Regions from separate parts of the Homo sapiens genome. Here region 2 is linked to region 1. Evidence: promoter capture Hi-C in human tissues and cell types (Jung and others, 2019). All regions are on one chromosome and are shown on one strand. Each heading gives the region's core, a stretch centred on a gene start or on the middle of the fragment in contact. The rest is flanking DNA. Distances are from core to core; before and after follow the strand shown. Region 1 holds the start of LSM5 (LSM5 homolog, U6 small nuclear RNA and mRNA degradation associated). Region 2 has its middle 23 kb from the start of BMPER.

Region 1 (7,601 bases), core at 2,334-4,833:
AATCCTCATTACAAAACAACAGCATTTTAATTGAATTTTCTAAGTGATCATTTCCGGTTGTTTAAATGCACCTGTTCAAATCAAAGTTCATCATTTTGTTTGGAACAACTTTTGTTTGAGAATCAAATGGTCACGTAAATGACAAAACAAATAAGCATATAATGACAGAAAAGTAAGTGGCAAAATAACTACAAACTTTGTTCCACTGGCTACTGCAGTAGAATAAACAAAATGACAGTTAACCAAAAACACCTTTATTTTCATCTGCAAAGAAGAAGCTCTTTTCTTCTTTTTCCAGGATAATCATGATTAACTTACAAAAATGGGTACACATCTTCAAAGCACTTCCCTTTAACGGGAAACTTAGCTTTATGGGATTTAAACATTAGAAAGTGGGAAAAAAAATTCCATTTTCTTGTCATTATAAGCCAAAACAAAATCTAGTGTAAGTCAAGGAAACTCATTCACACTTCAGGTCCTTCTCCTCCAGGAACCAGCTGCATAAAGAGGAAAAAGAGTTTATTAATAACACTACCACCATGTCATCTAAAAACCCCTTGCTCTTCATTAAGCCACCTTTGCCTGTCCCCTGCACTCCACGTTCCCATTTTCTCCAGATTGTCAGTATCTATTTACAATTCCCAACGTCATCAATTAATACTTACTATCTCAACAGCGATTAAAAGTTCCAAGCAAACTAACCTTTAGACCCAATGCCTCTTCAATAGCTGAGCTTTAGGACCCTGACCACAGAGAACCCCTTTCCCATCTTATGCACCACTGGGCCATGATCATTTAGTCAAGCAAGCAACATTAAGGTTAGTTCTGTAATCACTGCTCCCCAAAAATGGGCTCCCATCAAAATAAAACAGTTTCAATGTGTCTTACCATTGTTATATTATTTCCATTTAGCAAAATCTGATCTAATTTAGTAATCCTTCTTCCTTCTGGTGTGATTTCACTAAATGAATAGATAAAATACAGTCAGGACAAACAGTGAAAATCAAAGCCAACATTTTGGAAATACTTACCCTCCCTAAAAAGGTTATCCTTGTATACAAATTACACTGAGGTTGAGCAATTATATCCACAATTTTCAGATACAAAGGTTATCCACTAGGTAATGTAACCTTCATTAAAAGCAGCAGAATGAACTCACTGACACTAAGACCCACGTCTATCAGACAGAGCTTCATAAAAAGAAGTGAAAGCTTGCCCAGGAAATCAAATATGAAATGAAATGTTTTTTGGGTTTTTTTTTTTTTAAGAGACAGGGTCTTGCTCTGTTGCCCAGGCTGAGTACAGTGGTACAATCATAGTTCACTGCAGCCTAGAACTCCTGGGCTCAAGGGATCCTCACCCTCCAGAGCAGCTAGGACTACAGCTGCCCCCTACTATAACCAGCTAATTTTTAAATTTTTTATAGAGACAGGGGTCTCCCTTTGTTGCCCAGGCTGGTCTCAAACTCCCAGGCTTAATCCTCCTCCTTTGGCCTTCCAAAGTGCTAGGATTACAGGAATGAGCCACCATGTCCAGCCTAAATGCTCTTACTATCAGTTCCTTTATTTGACCTGAACCCTAAAATTCCTGGCTCTTTTTGTTATCTTCTACCTTAAAACTGTGTCTCCACTAATATTCTAGGCGTTTACTAATAATTACATTAAGGTAATAACACTCTGATCCAATTTTACAAGCAAACAGATAAAACGTCTATCTTTAACGTTATTCCACCAAGAGGTAATGTTTTCTCATAAATAATTTTACTCAAAAGTAGTAAAACTGTCTTTAATTAAGAAGAGATTCCCCCCAATTCTTTAACACTACTCACAACTCAGTGACATCTTCCAGTACCATATCTGAAATTTGGTGTTAAGAAAATAAATACAGAATTTACTCTAGCTTCTGCCTTTGTTCAGCTTTTGTTTTTTGTTTTTGTTTTTGTTTTGAGACAAAGTCTCGCTCTGTCATCCAGGCTTAAGTGCAGTGGTACAATCACACCTCACTGCAGCCTCCACCTTTTAGGCTTAAAGGATCCTCCTGCCTTAGCCCCGGAGATTAGCTGGACCCACAGGTGTACATCACCATGCCCAGCTAATTTTTGTAATTTTTGTGGAGACAGGGTTTCATCATCTTGCCCAGGCTGGTCTCAAACTCCTGGGCTCAAGCGATCCACCCACCTCGCCCTCCCAAAGCGCTGGGATTATAGGCGTGAGCCACTGGGCTCGCCTGTTCAGTTTTAATTACAATGTTTAATACAATGGCTCAAATTCAAAATGCTTGTTGTTGATAGGAACTTTACCGTCTTTCAATACATACCTCTTAAAACATTATCATAAGTTCCCTGAGAATGAACTGATTTTTATTATAATAATCACAAATATACTGATTGTCTATAGTTCTTATGTTATTACTTAAGAAAAACCTATACCACCACCACCTTTTAAAAGGATACTGACAAAGTCATCAAATCCTAGAAGAGTACCAACAATTTCCTTATCACTCTTCATCACGATGTGAATTCTTGATCCTATACATTTGTCCACAAGCTCTGAGGAGGGAAAAAATATTATTTTACCATTCATTATTTCAACAAATATTTGAGTGCCTACTGGCACTCTTACTTGCATATAGTGAAAGAAAAACCAGGAAAAACATTCATTCAATAACTTTAGGTCTTATAATACAAATCTCAGTTCAAGCACAGCATCTGGCACATAATGAGCCTTCCAAAAGAGTCTGTGGCATGAAGGAATGAAAACTTTTCAATCACGGCCACGACCACTAGTTCAATCACTCTTCACCAACTACAAAAATATAAGAGGAGATAGGTATAATTATATTCACCGGAAACTCTCCGGTCACTGCTTCCCTTTCCCAACTCTGTCTATCCTCTGTGCTCTGACGGTAGCTTGAACATCTCTTTAGCTAGCCTAGCATTATGTGGCATGATGTCTACTTGTCCAGTGTTCTCTCCTCCACTGGCTTGTGTGCTATTTGAAGGCAATGGCTATGGTTTATCATTGAAAAATGCCCAGGCACGGTATCTAGTGTATAGATACTCAGTTACTACTTATTGAATGAATAAATAACAAACAGAGCTGGTTTCCAGATTCCTCATTTAAGGCTCATTCCGGACCAGGGTGTTAGTGTCACTAACCAACCACATACATAACATGGTCTATCTAATCTGGGGATCGTAAACGCCAGGCTGAGAAGTAGGCCTACTACCTATAACACTGCAGAGGCGGGCTCACAACAAAGTAGGCCGACGACGCGTTCACTAAATGTGGACCTTTTCCAGTGAAGGTCTGGTTTGAGAAGTCAAAGTCCTTGCCTGGAGGAGCCCGACCACGTTAAAGAGCAGGTGCGGCCTGCTGTCGCGAAGACTTGGAGCTCAGAGTCGAACCGCATTTGGTCTTATACATTTCCCCACACTCGGCCAGGGCCTGCCTCGGAACAGCCCCTCGGCCCCCAATCCTGAATGTCAGCTCCCTGTTCCTGCTCCCCAAAGGACGGCGATTACCTAAGGGCAGCAGCTGCGACGGGTTGGTAGTAGCGTTAGCCGCCATGGCTACGCCGGAAGTGGCCTGCCTTCATTGATGGTGGGACGACTTTGAAAAGCGCGCTTCCGCTTTTTCCGCAGCCCAAACAGGCTCGACCAATCTGAGGCCGAGCGCACGATCTAGTCAGCTGCGTGGGTCGCGTTCACTGGCTTTTTTCCCCGGCAAGTGAGATCCGGTGAAATATTTCCTGCCCACTGGACATTTTACCATCTCGGCAGATACCCATAATGCCCTTGAAGTTTTGGAGAGACGTTGAAGATATTTTGCCTTGTGAATAAATTGTTCCTGTAACGTTTGAGTCTTCTTCCCCCGTAAAGTTGCATTTCCTCTCAAGCCAGAATCTTCAAACCAGTATAAATCAATTCGTATTTCCTGCCATCAATTAACTGTTACAATTTTCGTTACAACTACTCATTAAGGAATCTATTGTTTCTTTTTAAAGTCCAGTGGATTGAAAATCTGCAACTAGCATTTTTTAAAATTTTTCTTTAGTGAGGATTTAAGATATGTTTTTTAAACTTTTTACTACTTTAATTCATCGTTCTTATCTTTTTATGTCTGGTAGTCTTATTTATTATAGGCTTTTAAATTCAGTTTCTTCAACAATTCTTGTCTCACAGGCAACCACCAGATGTCACTCTAAATTATTCCAGAAGTGTAAAATCATGCTTTCCACTTCTGTGTTGAAAACAGCAAAGTATCGGCCCTAGTCTGTTTTATATTTGTATCCTAGGAACTTAAACCTGAACAGTCTAGGTCAGGCGCAGTGGTAACGACTGTAATCCCAGCACTTTGGAAGGCCGAGGCGGGCGGATCACCTGAGGTCAGGAGTTCGAGACCAGCCTGGCCAACATGGGTGAAACCCCGTCTCTACTAAAAATACAAAAATTAGCTGGGCGTGGTGGCGTGCGCCTGTAGTCCCAGCTACTCGGGAGGCAGAGGCAGGAGAACTGCTTGAACCCGAGAGGCAGCGGTTGCAGTGAGCCTAGATCATGCAACTGCACTCCAGCCTGAACAACAAGAGCGAAACTCCATCTCAAAAAAAAAAAAAAAAAAAGCTAAACAATAAACATGAGCGGCCACAAAGAACGTCATTCATTCATACAACAAATGGTCATTAAGCACCCATCATTCCTTCATAGACTGAGTTCCTCAAGGCTGAGAATTATGGGAAGCAGTAGTTTACGTGATTAAATTTCTTCATTTTGAATTAAATGACTTTGGTTCAAATTCCATGGTCAGTTATTTGACAATGGGCAAGTTATTTTAACTTTTTAAGTCTCAATATACCCATTGGAAAAAATGGGGACAACAGTATCTACTCATAAGATTAATGTGAAGATTAATTGAGATAATCTATGAAAAGTGGTCAGCATAGGACCTGGCACATAGCCCTTTTAAACATGAGCTGTTATTACTTATCCTTGTTTTCTAATACATGATGTCTGGCTCAGAGTGAAGCTACATAAAGCTAGCATTGCTAGCTGGTTTTGCATTCATCTTATTTTTATAACCAGACATAAGCCACTTTAAGGAAGCAATTTCTTATTTTATACACTGTGCACACTACATTTTCAGGCACACTGTAGGGCGCCTAATGAATATTCTTTAAATTGATTCTCACTATTTCATTCACACCCATCAACATTCTCCTTACTCTTCATAAGATTTTAAATACGAAGTAATGCCAGATTTGTTTGTGACGCTTCTTTCTTTCTCTTTCTCTTTTTTTCTTTTTGTCCAATCCTCATTTGGTTGAAAACCACCTCTTTTCCTGGTTTTCCTTTTCTATTCCTATTTTATTTTCCCCATACCATACTGACAGTATGGGAGAATTCAAAACATTGTTGTTATTTGATAGAGTTTTTAAAAATTAGAAAAATAGGCTGGGCACAGTGGCTCACGCCTATAATCCCAACACTTTGGGGGCCGAGGTGGGCGGATCACGAGGTCAAGACATGAAGACCATCCTGGCCAACATGGTGAAACCCCATCTCTACTAAGAATACAAAAATTAGCTAGGTGTGGTGGCACACGCCTGTAGTCCCAGGTACTCAGGAGGCTGAGGCAGGAGAATCGCTTGAACCTGGGAGGCAGAGGTTGCAGTGAGCCAATCGTGCCACTGCACTCCAGCCTGGCGACGGAGTGAGACTCCATCTCAAAACAACAACAACAAAAAAAAAACAGAATAAACATTAGCAATTTTGAATGCCACTAATAAAGAATAAAGAAAATCTCTTTAGAATCTGAAAAAAGGAACGATATATAGTTCACTTACATAGTAGAGTTAATGGGGATTTCAGGGAGTGGTATTTTTATTATTTTCTCTCCTGAGGCAAGACACAAAAAGGAAGAACAGGCCAATTCCAAATGGAGAGTTGTTATGAACTTGAAAATATGTCATAGCTCTATGTCTCAAGGATTTTTCTCCCTTTAAGTCTTAAGTAGAAGACGTAAAATAGAATTTATAATTTATCATAAAATACATGTAACTACCAAAGGCTCTTCCATGTATTATATGTTCAGAAAGGCATTTCTAATTTTCTCCCTCGAGTTAAATTAGAAATTTTATTATTTTCCCAATAGACATTTGTCCTTGTGGACAATATCTTGTTAATGAATTTATTCTACATTAATACAACTCATTTAAAACATAATGTAAGATGTGCATGGTGGCAGGCAACTGTAGCCCCAGCTACTTAGGAGGCTGAGGCAGGAGGATCCCTTGAGCCCAAGAGTTTGAGGCCAGCCTGGGCAACATAGCAACACCCCATCATATTTTATTTATTAATTTAGAGACAAGACCTCACTCTGTTACCCAGGCAGGAGTACAGTGGTGTGCTCGCGGACTCAAGCAATCCTCCCATCTCAGCCTCCTGAGAAGCCAGTACCACAGGCGCGTGCTACCAAGTCTGGCTATTTATTTTTTATTATTTTTTGTAGAGATGAGGTCTCATTACATTGCTCAGGTTGGTCTCGAACTCTTGGACTCAAGTGATCTACCCACCCTGGCCTCCCAAAGTGCTGAGATTACAGGTGTGAGCCGCCATGCCCCACCTATATTCTAAATTCTTAAGTGGTCCAGTCTGTGTATTTAGAGATGAAAAAAATCCTGGAAATTCCCTTGTTCACTTTCTGTCTCAATTTTCCCAGTAACTAACTTTTTCTTTCTCTCTCTCTCCCTTTCTTTATTTTTTTGAGATGGAGTCTCATTCTGTCATCTGGGCTGGAGAGCAGTGCAGTGACACCATCTCAGATCACTGCAACCTCCACCTCCCGGGTTAGGGTGATTCTCTTGCCTCAGCCTCCCTAGTAGCTGGGATTACACACACCACCATGCCTGGCTAATTTTTGCATTTTTAGCAGAGATGGGGTTTCACCATGTTGCCCAGGCTGGTCTCCAACTTTTGGCCTCAAGTGATCTGCCCGCATCGGCCTCCCAAAGTGCTGGGATTACCAGCATGAGCCACCACGCCTGACCCTCTTTTTATATATATCTTTTTTTTTTTTAGAGGAAATCTCGCTCTTGTCCCCCAGGCTGAAGTGCGATGGTGCAATCTTGGCTCACTGCAACCTCCACCTCCCGGATTCAAGCAATTCTCCTGTCTCAGCCGTCCGAGTAGCTGGGATTACAGGTCTAATTTTTGTATTTTGTACTAGAGAGGGGGTTTTACCATGTTGGCCAGGCTGGTCTAGAACTCCTGACCTCAGGTGATCTGCCTGCCTTGGCCTCCCAAAGTGCTGGGATTACAGGCGTGAGCCACCACACCCGGCCCTTATATACATCTTTAAAAGGTGTTCAATTAGACAGTAATTTTAGCCATGCCAATTGTGGAAAATATCAAGACAGGTTATATCAAGAAAATATTAATAGTTAACACATCACACAGCTGACAGCTCAAAACAGTTAATATATTAAGAAAACAGTTAATATATTCTGCATACAGGGAGCAATATAGTTTTACACAGTTTTCTTAGCCAATGCCAATAATTTTGTAATACAGAAAAGAAATGTATAGCAGCATCTTGAAAAATGTC
Region 2 (7,601 bases), core at 2,233-4,732, 1.4 Mb after region 1:
CCAAAGCAGAGGACCCTGATAAATTGTATTTGGATTTCTGACCCACAGAAACTGAGATAACAAATGTTGTTTTAAGCCATTAGATTTAGAGGTAATTTTTTATGTGACAACAATAGATAACTAATACACAAGAGCTACAGGGATCACGTTTTGATCTGTACTAGTTGATCTAACAGTAAGTGAATTATATGGCATGTGAATTATACCTCAATAAAGCTGTTTAAAGATTTATATCAGGGCATTTGTTAAATAGCATAAATAATATTAGAAATGCATACATCTGTGAAAGGAGTGGTGTATAAAATATGTGAGTTGACTAGAAATAATGGACAGCAGAGTACCTCTGTTTTTGCACGAGAGGCATAAGAATGTGGAAAGCCCAGAGCCTTGTACTCTCCCAAGTGGTACCCTAGGCCCAGGACTCTCATTCAGTCTTAGATTTGGCCATAACATGGAGGGATCATGTGGCTTGAATGGACTCAGGTTAGCTAAGATCTACTGTTAGAGCACAGTGGCCTTTGCCCCAAGTAAAACCCTCAAGCAAGCTACTTTTCAGGGAGTCTGAAGAATGCAGTGATGCCTCCCTGAACTTACATGAGCAGACTCTGTGATATTTTTGTGCCTATATGTTAATAATTGCTTGTTCATGAGGCAGAATTTGGTCAGAGATTTGATTTCACTGTAACATATGATCTGCTGTTGAGGGTATGAGAGACTTGCAGCTCTCAATAGAGGCTAAAGAAATCAACCAAAAAGAAGTGGACAATTGTGAATGACCAAGTTGACTCAGGCCATTCTGCAACAGAACTGATGAGACAAGAAGTCGATGCATAAGACAACTGACTGCATCCCTTGCAAGGTAAAGTAGCCCCTGTGTGTCCCCTAGTGTTTGTCTTTGTTGTGGCAAAATGATTAAACTGGCCCCTCATCCCAGCCACCAGTTAATTTAAGCAATGTTAGAGGCACAACAGTACCAGTCATTCTCTCACTCAAAGACCTTTCGTGGTATCCTATTTCCCAAGAACTAAGTCCAAGTCCTTTGTCTTGAATACAAGGCTCTTACAACTTTTGTTTTCTACTATCCATCATACACTAAATTGAACAGCTTCGGGAAATTGAACAGTTCTTGTATTTTCTTGCTTCCTTATCTTTGCTCATTTAATTCCATCCAGCTGAATGATCTTTCCATCCATTAGCTTTGGACAAATAGTGTTTAATGTATTTCAGGCCCTTGAGTACAAAGATAAATAAGGCACAGTCTCGTCCCATAAGAATCTTATTTAGTGTGTGAGTGTGTGAGTTGGCCATATCAACAAGCAATTCCAGTAAAATTTGGTGAGTGATTTGATAAGTTTCTATGGGTAGATTAACTATGGTCACCAATTCTTTGTGGCTCCTCTTATGAAAAAGAGGATTCTCTCTCACCTCCCTGGGCCTGGGCTGTCCCTGTGTCTTGCTTTGACCTATAGAATTCAGTGGAAGTGACACTGTTGTCATTTCTGAGCCTTGGCCTCTAGAGGTCTTGCCAGCTTCTGCCCTCCCTCTTGGATCTCAGCTGCCATAACAGGACACCCAGTGAAGTGGACTGGATAATGAGAGGCCACTCAGAAGAGAATGGAGGTGGCTCAGCTGATGGCAGCACTGTGTTAATCATGTTTTGTATTTTCTGTATTGTTAAGATGTTTGGACATCTTGCAGGTCTTTCAGACCTGGGGAGACACTGACCCTTGCAGAGCTAGCTTACTCCTGGGGGTGTTGGCCTTTCATGTATAGACTGTTCAGCCCAGTGCTGTCCCCCAACCCCCTTCAGCTAACTCCCACACACCAAGCCAATATCTCCCCTGTCCTAAATCAATCCAGGGCCAGGTATCAGACAACCAGGGACAGTCTTTATGTCTCCGAGCCCCCCAGAGTTATTCAAATGAGATGATTCTAAACTTTGACTCTGTCTTGCCTTTCCTTTTTGCAAAAATCTCAATAAAGTCTCAGGTCTAGGCTTCCCCCTTACTCTTGTTTCTGCCTCTAAATCAAAACCTAGTTCTTTGCCATGTGGTCCTGAGTGATTTGGAATGCCCCCTTCTCTGGGGAAATGTAAGTAACAAAAATCTTCTCTCAAGGTCATTAACCTCTCCATGTTGTCACTCAGTCTCTTCTATCAATTAAAACCCTGTGGGTACAAATTTTAGAACCAGCACTAATTAGTAGGGAGGGCTATCCAGCCTTAGTCAAACCTTCAGATGATCAAAGCCATGGGAATGATCTCAGGTGAAACTAGCAGAGCTTCCCAGCTGAATCCAGCCCAAATTGTAAAGTCATGAGAAAGTGAATGTTTGTGGTATAGGGAAGAAATTCAATGGAAAACTATGCATTGTCTACAGCACACCCTTCTGGGTTATCAGATTCTAATTCTATGGGAGCTATTTCACAGCTCTGTGATATTATAAACAACTGATCTCAACCACAAATAATTCTTTTCTATACACATTTAAATGAATTCTGTCCAGTGGAGGAACAGCACTCTCTTTTCCTGCAAAAGTCAGGTTTATCCCATTTTTGCTTGCATTTCAATTTCCCTTTGCTCCGTATAAATTTATGCTTCTTTGACTTCTTTGAATTACTTGTAACATCTATCTGTTTCCTTCATTTTATTTAACATGTGCTCATCCTATACCTACATGAGATTATGGTTTTACCTTATTTTGAAAATTATCCTTTAACATAGCTATCTTAAACCATTAAGTTTTGTAGTGTAGCAGCAGATGCAGGAAGGCAATAACGGAGAGCAGAATCAATTGCTTACATCCCATTGGCTCATACTTCTTTGCTATTTATATTACTAACAGAAAAACGTCACTTCTTTGTGGCATAGACAATAAACATGTATAAAGAAAAATATTGGAAGCACAGCCTGGAACGCTGACTAAAAGGAAGCGGCAGAATGATGAGGTTAAAGGTATGAGCTTTCCTCATTCAATATGCCTGGGTTCAAGCCCAGACTCCACCATATACCAGCTATGTAAACTTGGGCACATTTGTTGATATCTGTAAGTTTCAATTTCTTCATGAACCAAAATCATACACACTGCATAGTAAGCACTAAATAAGACCATGTGGCAGACACCTTTGATTGCCCACCGGACGTTCACTTCCTGATTTCTGAACAGAGCCCCAGGTTCATCCAGGTGTCCACATTGTCTCCAGCTCCAAAGAGGTGTTCTGAGCAATGTAAACCAAGAAGCCTATGGTCCTTCCCTAACATCTGCAGTTATTTAGGAGAGGGCACATGATTGAACTGACTCAACTATGCAAGCAGGAATTGTTTGCATCCCATGTTGGGAGAAAAGTGTTCTTTTCTTGTTTTTGTCCTGTTGGGTGGAATCAGTACACAAATGAATGCTGATTGCTGCAGGCAGCCATCTTATAACCAAGAGGCAAAACAGCCTTGGGACAGAGGCTCTGTTGAGAGTCAGAAGAGAAGGACCAAAGCTGTGAGCCCAGAGCTTGGCCTATAGTCAGCGTTCAGTCCACGTAATCTAAGCAGCAGCCTGGGTTCTGTTGATTTGGAGAGGAACCTTCCTTTGGATTTGTACCAAAAGGATTCTGGCATGTTGGCCAGTGAGAATTGGAAGGGCTACTCTATTTCCCGTAGATTGTGTAAGAAAAGAGGATTTTTATCACGTGACCAGCCCTAAATGATTGTTCCCCTTAAAACCAAAACTCAAATACAATCGAGACATTGGCCTTTGTATTCAATGCCTGTAGCCATAATTCATTTTCTGTCAAAATACAGGGTTTTTTTCCTGCCAAACCGTTGAAATCACAATTTTCAAAAGTTTGGCAAGGACCATTTTCCCATCAGAGATAGCATATTTTTATGGTGATTTTTGCCCATTACATTGTAAAACAATAATAGCCAAAGTCTTGCTTCTGGTCATTGCGTACTCTGAGTATTTGCTAGCACCACCACAAAGTGACACTTCTATTTCAAGCCCTGTTTTGAGGATGTGATAACAAAGTGGAAAAATGTTGCTACTGGCTATAATTTGGCAGATTAGACTTAAGCTTCCAAGGATTCTTCTCAATACAGTTTTGCCAAAATTCAGACACACACACATGCACACACACATACACACACACACACACACAGAGCTTGTTTTTTTTTTTAAGAAAATAAAACAAACAAAAAACTGCATGAAGAAGAAAGAAGAAAACCCTTCTACAAAGTGCTGAAGTCTTGCTTTCTTCTAGTCTCTCATAAGCAATAACCTGGCTTTAAGATATGAGACAAGACAGGGAGTTCATCCAAAGTGATGCCCTCCCCCTGCCTTTTTTGATGGAGTTTTGAAATAAGGAGACTAATTGGCAAATATTTAAAGTTGAGGAAAATGGCAAAATTTGTATGCTTTTGAAATAGAGTCATAGGATTCATCATTGTGTGATCTTTATGGTGATTTGTTTTATCTCCCAATGAGAAGAGAACCCATGCTTATTCAGGCTTGCCCATTTGGGCAGGTCTTTGCATGTCCTGGTAGTATCCAGGTGAATCTCCATGGTCCAATGTCAGCTTGGTTTCTGCACTAGCATCTAGTCCCTCTATGATCATCAGTGTCTGAGAAGTCTGAGTCCCAGTTAAGGTTAACTGTAAAATCCTGTCTGTTGGTACAATTCATTAAAAGACAATTTACCTATAATAGCTACTTAATGTGTCTGCAGTATATTTTCACCATAGACAGAATCAATAGAGATGATCAATAAAAAGAATTATCACAAATTTCCTGACAACTCCATGGTGGCAGCAGCTGGGAAGCCACAGCAAAGGGGTGGGCCTGTTGGTCGGGCTGCACGGGGTGAGAGTTTGTCTCTCAGCCCTTGGAAGACAGTCTAGACTGGTTATCTTGTAGTGCCAGCCTTGTGGCTCTCTAAGAGAGCTGCCCACAGTTCCTTTTCTGGTTTATCCACAAGACCCATTACCTTGATCTCCTCCTACTTCCTCCCCTGGCTCTCAGCCCTTCCCTGAGTAGAGACGGGATGGGGTGAGGCTTTGAGCCTGGTCTGTTTTGATTTTCATTCTTGTTAACCCCAACCAGGAAACTCTTCACAACAAGGGCAGCCAGCTGCCCATTCACACACAGTGAGGTTGCCCTGTGGAGTTATAGCAGAACAAACATATGCTTTCATTCCTGAGTTCCTCATATTGTTTATTTACTTGTGTTTACCTACGTTATCCATGCACAAAAGATTTGAGCCATCTTACTATCATGACAACACATCCTACACTGTACAAATGGAATCAGAATTCAAGGTCCTGGACCAGAACACATGGGACTGTTTAGTGGCTACAACAGAGTTGCACAAAAGGAGATAATGATTGCAGACAGACTCCCGAAGCCTTTGAATGCTGAGTCTACCTACCATGAGACTACTTTCTTGGGACTTATGGTTATGTGAGTGAATGAATGCTTATATTATTTTTAAATATTGGAAATTATGTTTATTGCAGCCAACCATGTTCTACTGGTACAGATAGTCCCACTGGCACAGATTATCTCTATTGTATGGGTGAAGGCAATTGAGGTTTGACAAGTTGACTCAGCAAATGAGTGGCAGTATCTGGGCTTTTTCCTCCTGTCTGACCCAGAGTAATTTTTTAACTTTCCCTGGAGTCCTGATAAAAAACGCAGATTCCTCTACTTCACTCCCAAAGATTCCATTTAGGAACTGAGGTGGAGTCCCAGGAATCTCCATTCTAAGCAAGCAACACAGATCGTTCTGATGTGAGGGCTTCTTGAACCCCATTTGAAGACTCATGGTCCCATGTCATCCAACCCCTCAATCAAGCTCATTTCTTTCCAAAGCCTATTCTTTCTCCCACCATTTTGGGCTGACATCACCATAGCATCCACACATCCACTCCTATCCCTCATCCCAGACACAGGTGTGCCTCAATATAAAAGCAGAAGGTCCTGGTTCTCTGGGATCTGCGGTTCAAAAGTACGATCACTCAGGAAGGTCGGAGGGTGGGGGCACTGTCTCCTCTTCCCTCCTCTTGGGAAGTATTTGTCAAAATGGTCATCCTGGGTGGTCACAGATTGACACAATCAGCTTTACTTATTCAACCAACCAGCCCACTCATTACTTGGGTGTCAACTCCCTGGAAAACAGTGAAGTGAAATGTTCATGAGTCTTTGTTTGTGGGAAAGGGGAGGGGAGGAATGGGGGAAAATTGTGCACACGTTCATTTTTATTTCAAAAGAAACCCACATGGTTTGTTGTCATTCAGCTCTTTGGCTTTGCCTGAGAGACACAGAATCCAAATGTAATATTGTAGAAAGCTGTGAAACCAAAGTTTTGAATTTTTCTCAAGAATTTCATTTTTAATAATAAAAAATCACCAAGCCCATGTGTCCCATAAAAATAAATGAACGTTTTCACTCATGAACCAATAAAGCAGATGAAAGTTGGAAGCCACATAATACTTTCTGTGTAGCTCATCCAGGCCATGCAAGGCCTTGGAGAAGAATTATTTTATGTTTTGCAGATGGGGGAAACTGAGGAAGCACCAGGTCCATGTGCCTGGGAAAGTAACCTGCCAGCTGCTCTAATTTGGAAGAGCAGCTCTTTGGAGGGTTGGAGAAAAGCCCGGACCCTGTAGCATGGCATGTTCCAGCCAAGCCAGGATGTCCAGCTGCATTTCTGGAGGGGACCTTCTTGCCCCTGAGGACCTGTGGTTCTTCAGAGGGTCATGTTGCTTCATGCCTTGTCCCTGCTGCCCTTTCTTATGGAAATATTCTCCTGCTGTTTTCCAGATAGCACATACCCACTTGTCCCTCACTCATCACCAGAAGCTGTGGGTCCTCCCACGTGGCTGCATTCTCTGGCCCTGCCACAGCACTTTAACACCCACTGACATTTACGGCCACCCCACCATCCCCCCACCAAACACACACAGAGTCTGTTGAAGGATCCTGCTTAATTTATCTTTAGGTTCCCAGGACCGGTCACATGGTCAGGCACATAATACATGCTCATTAAGTGCTTGTTGAAAGGATAGGTGAATAAACCCATGCAGGCATGGGGTAATGTAAGAAAAAAGATGACACCTTCAACCTCTTGTTGTTCTCTAAAAGAAGCTGGAGGAAGAAATAGGAGGGAGGAAGCCCATTCAAGTTTCTGGCCAGCCTTTTCCCAGGGGCTGTGTCTCCTCACTTGGTTTCAGGAATGTAAACACTGAAAGTATAGTTCAGATTCCTTTCACTGGTAAATAACTTCTTCCACTCAAAAAAAAAAAAAAAAAAAAAAAGAAGATGGAAAACTGACAGTCATTGGAGGGGAGTGATTTTTGCTGGGCTGCCAGGGAACATGTTTGTGGCTGTGATGAGTATTTGGGCAAAGACCCTACACAGAGGGCTGGGATCACTTAAGGCCTACCCTATTTAGGGGGAGAATTTTTGAAAGCTTTTTTTTTTCCTTGCAAGAAAGACTTACACCCCAGCAGCTGCTGTCATGCTACCGCCAGTTTAGTCCTGAGTAAGAAACCCCCAGGCTTTGACACAATTACCTCTCTTGCTCCTTCTCCACAAAGGCTGGAAATTGAGTCCCAG

What was found. The method cuts DNA at HindIII sites, captures the fragments that hold promoters and counts their contacts. A contact is called where the count stands out against the background at its distance.
Region 2: a contact is called between a fragment that was not itself captured here and the fragment with the promoter of LSM5 in region 1, in 1 of the 25 tissues and cell types used here (lymphoblastoid cells).

What each region holds. Positions count from the first base shown.
Region 1 is chr7:32,486,797-32,494,397 of GRCh38, forward strand. It overlaps LSM5 (LSM5 homolog, U6 small nuclear RNA and mRNA degradation associated), which reads right to left and starts at 3,584. Exons shown (of 5, transcript NM_012322.3): 1 at 3,524-3,584; 2 at 2,453-2,548; 3 at 1,829-1,856; 4 at 889-961; 5 at 1-497. The coding sequence starts at 3,569. The coding sequence ends at 465. RefSeq lists an enhancer at 3,487-3,536. The HindIII fragment of the contact is 28,883 bases long and covers 1-7,601 here.
Region 2 is chr7:33,878,633-33,886,233 of GRCh38, forward strand. No RefSeq gene overlaps it. Among named protein-coding and RNA genes, the nearest start is that of BMPER, 23 kb to the right of the region's middle. The HindIII fragment of the contact is 4,552 bases long and covers 1,207-5,758 here.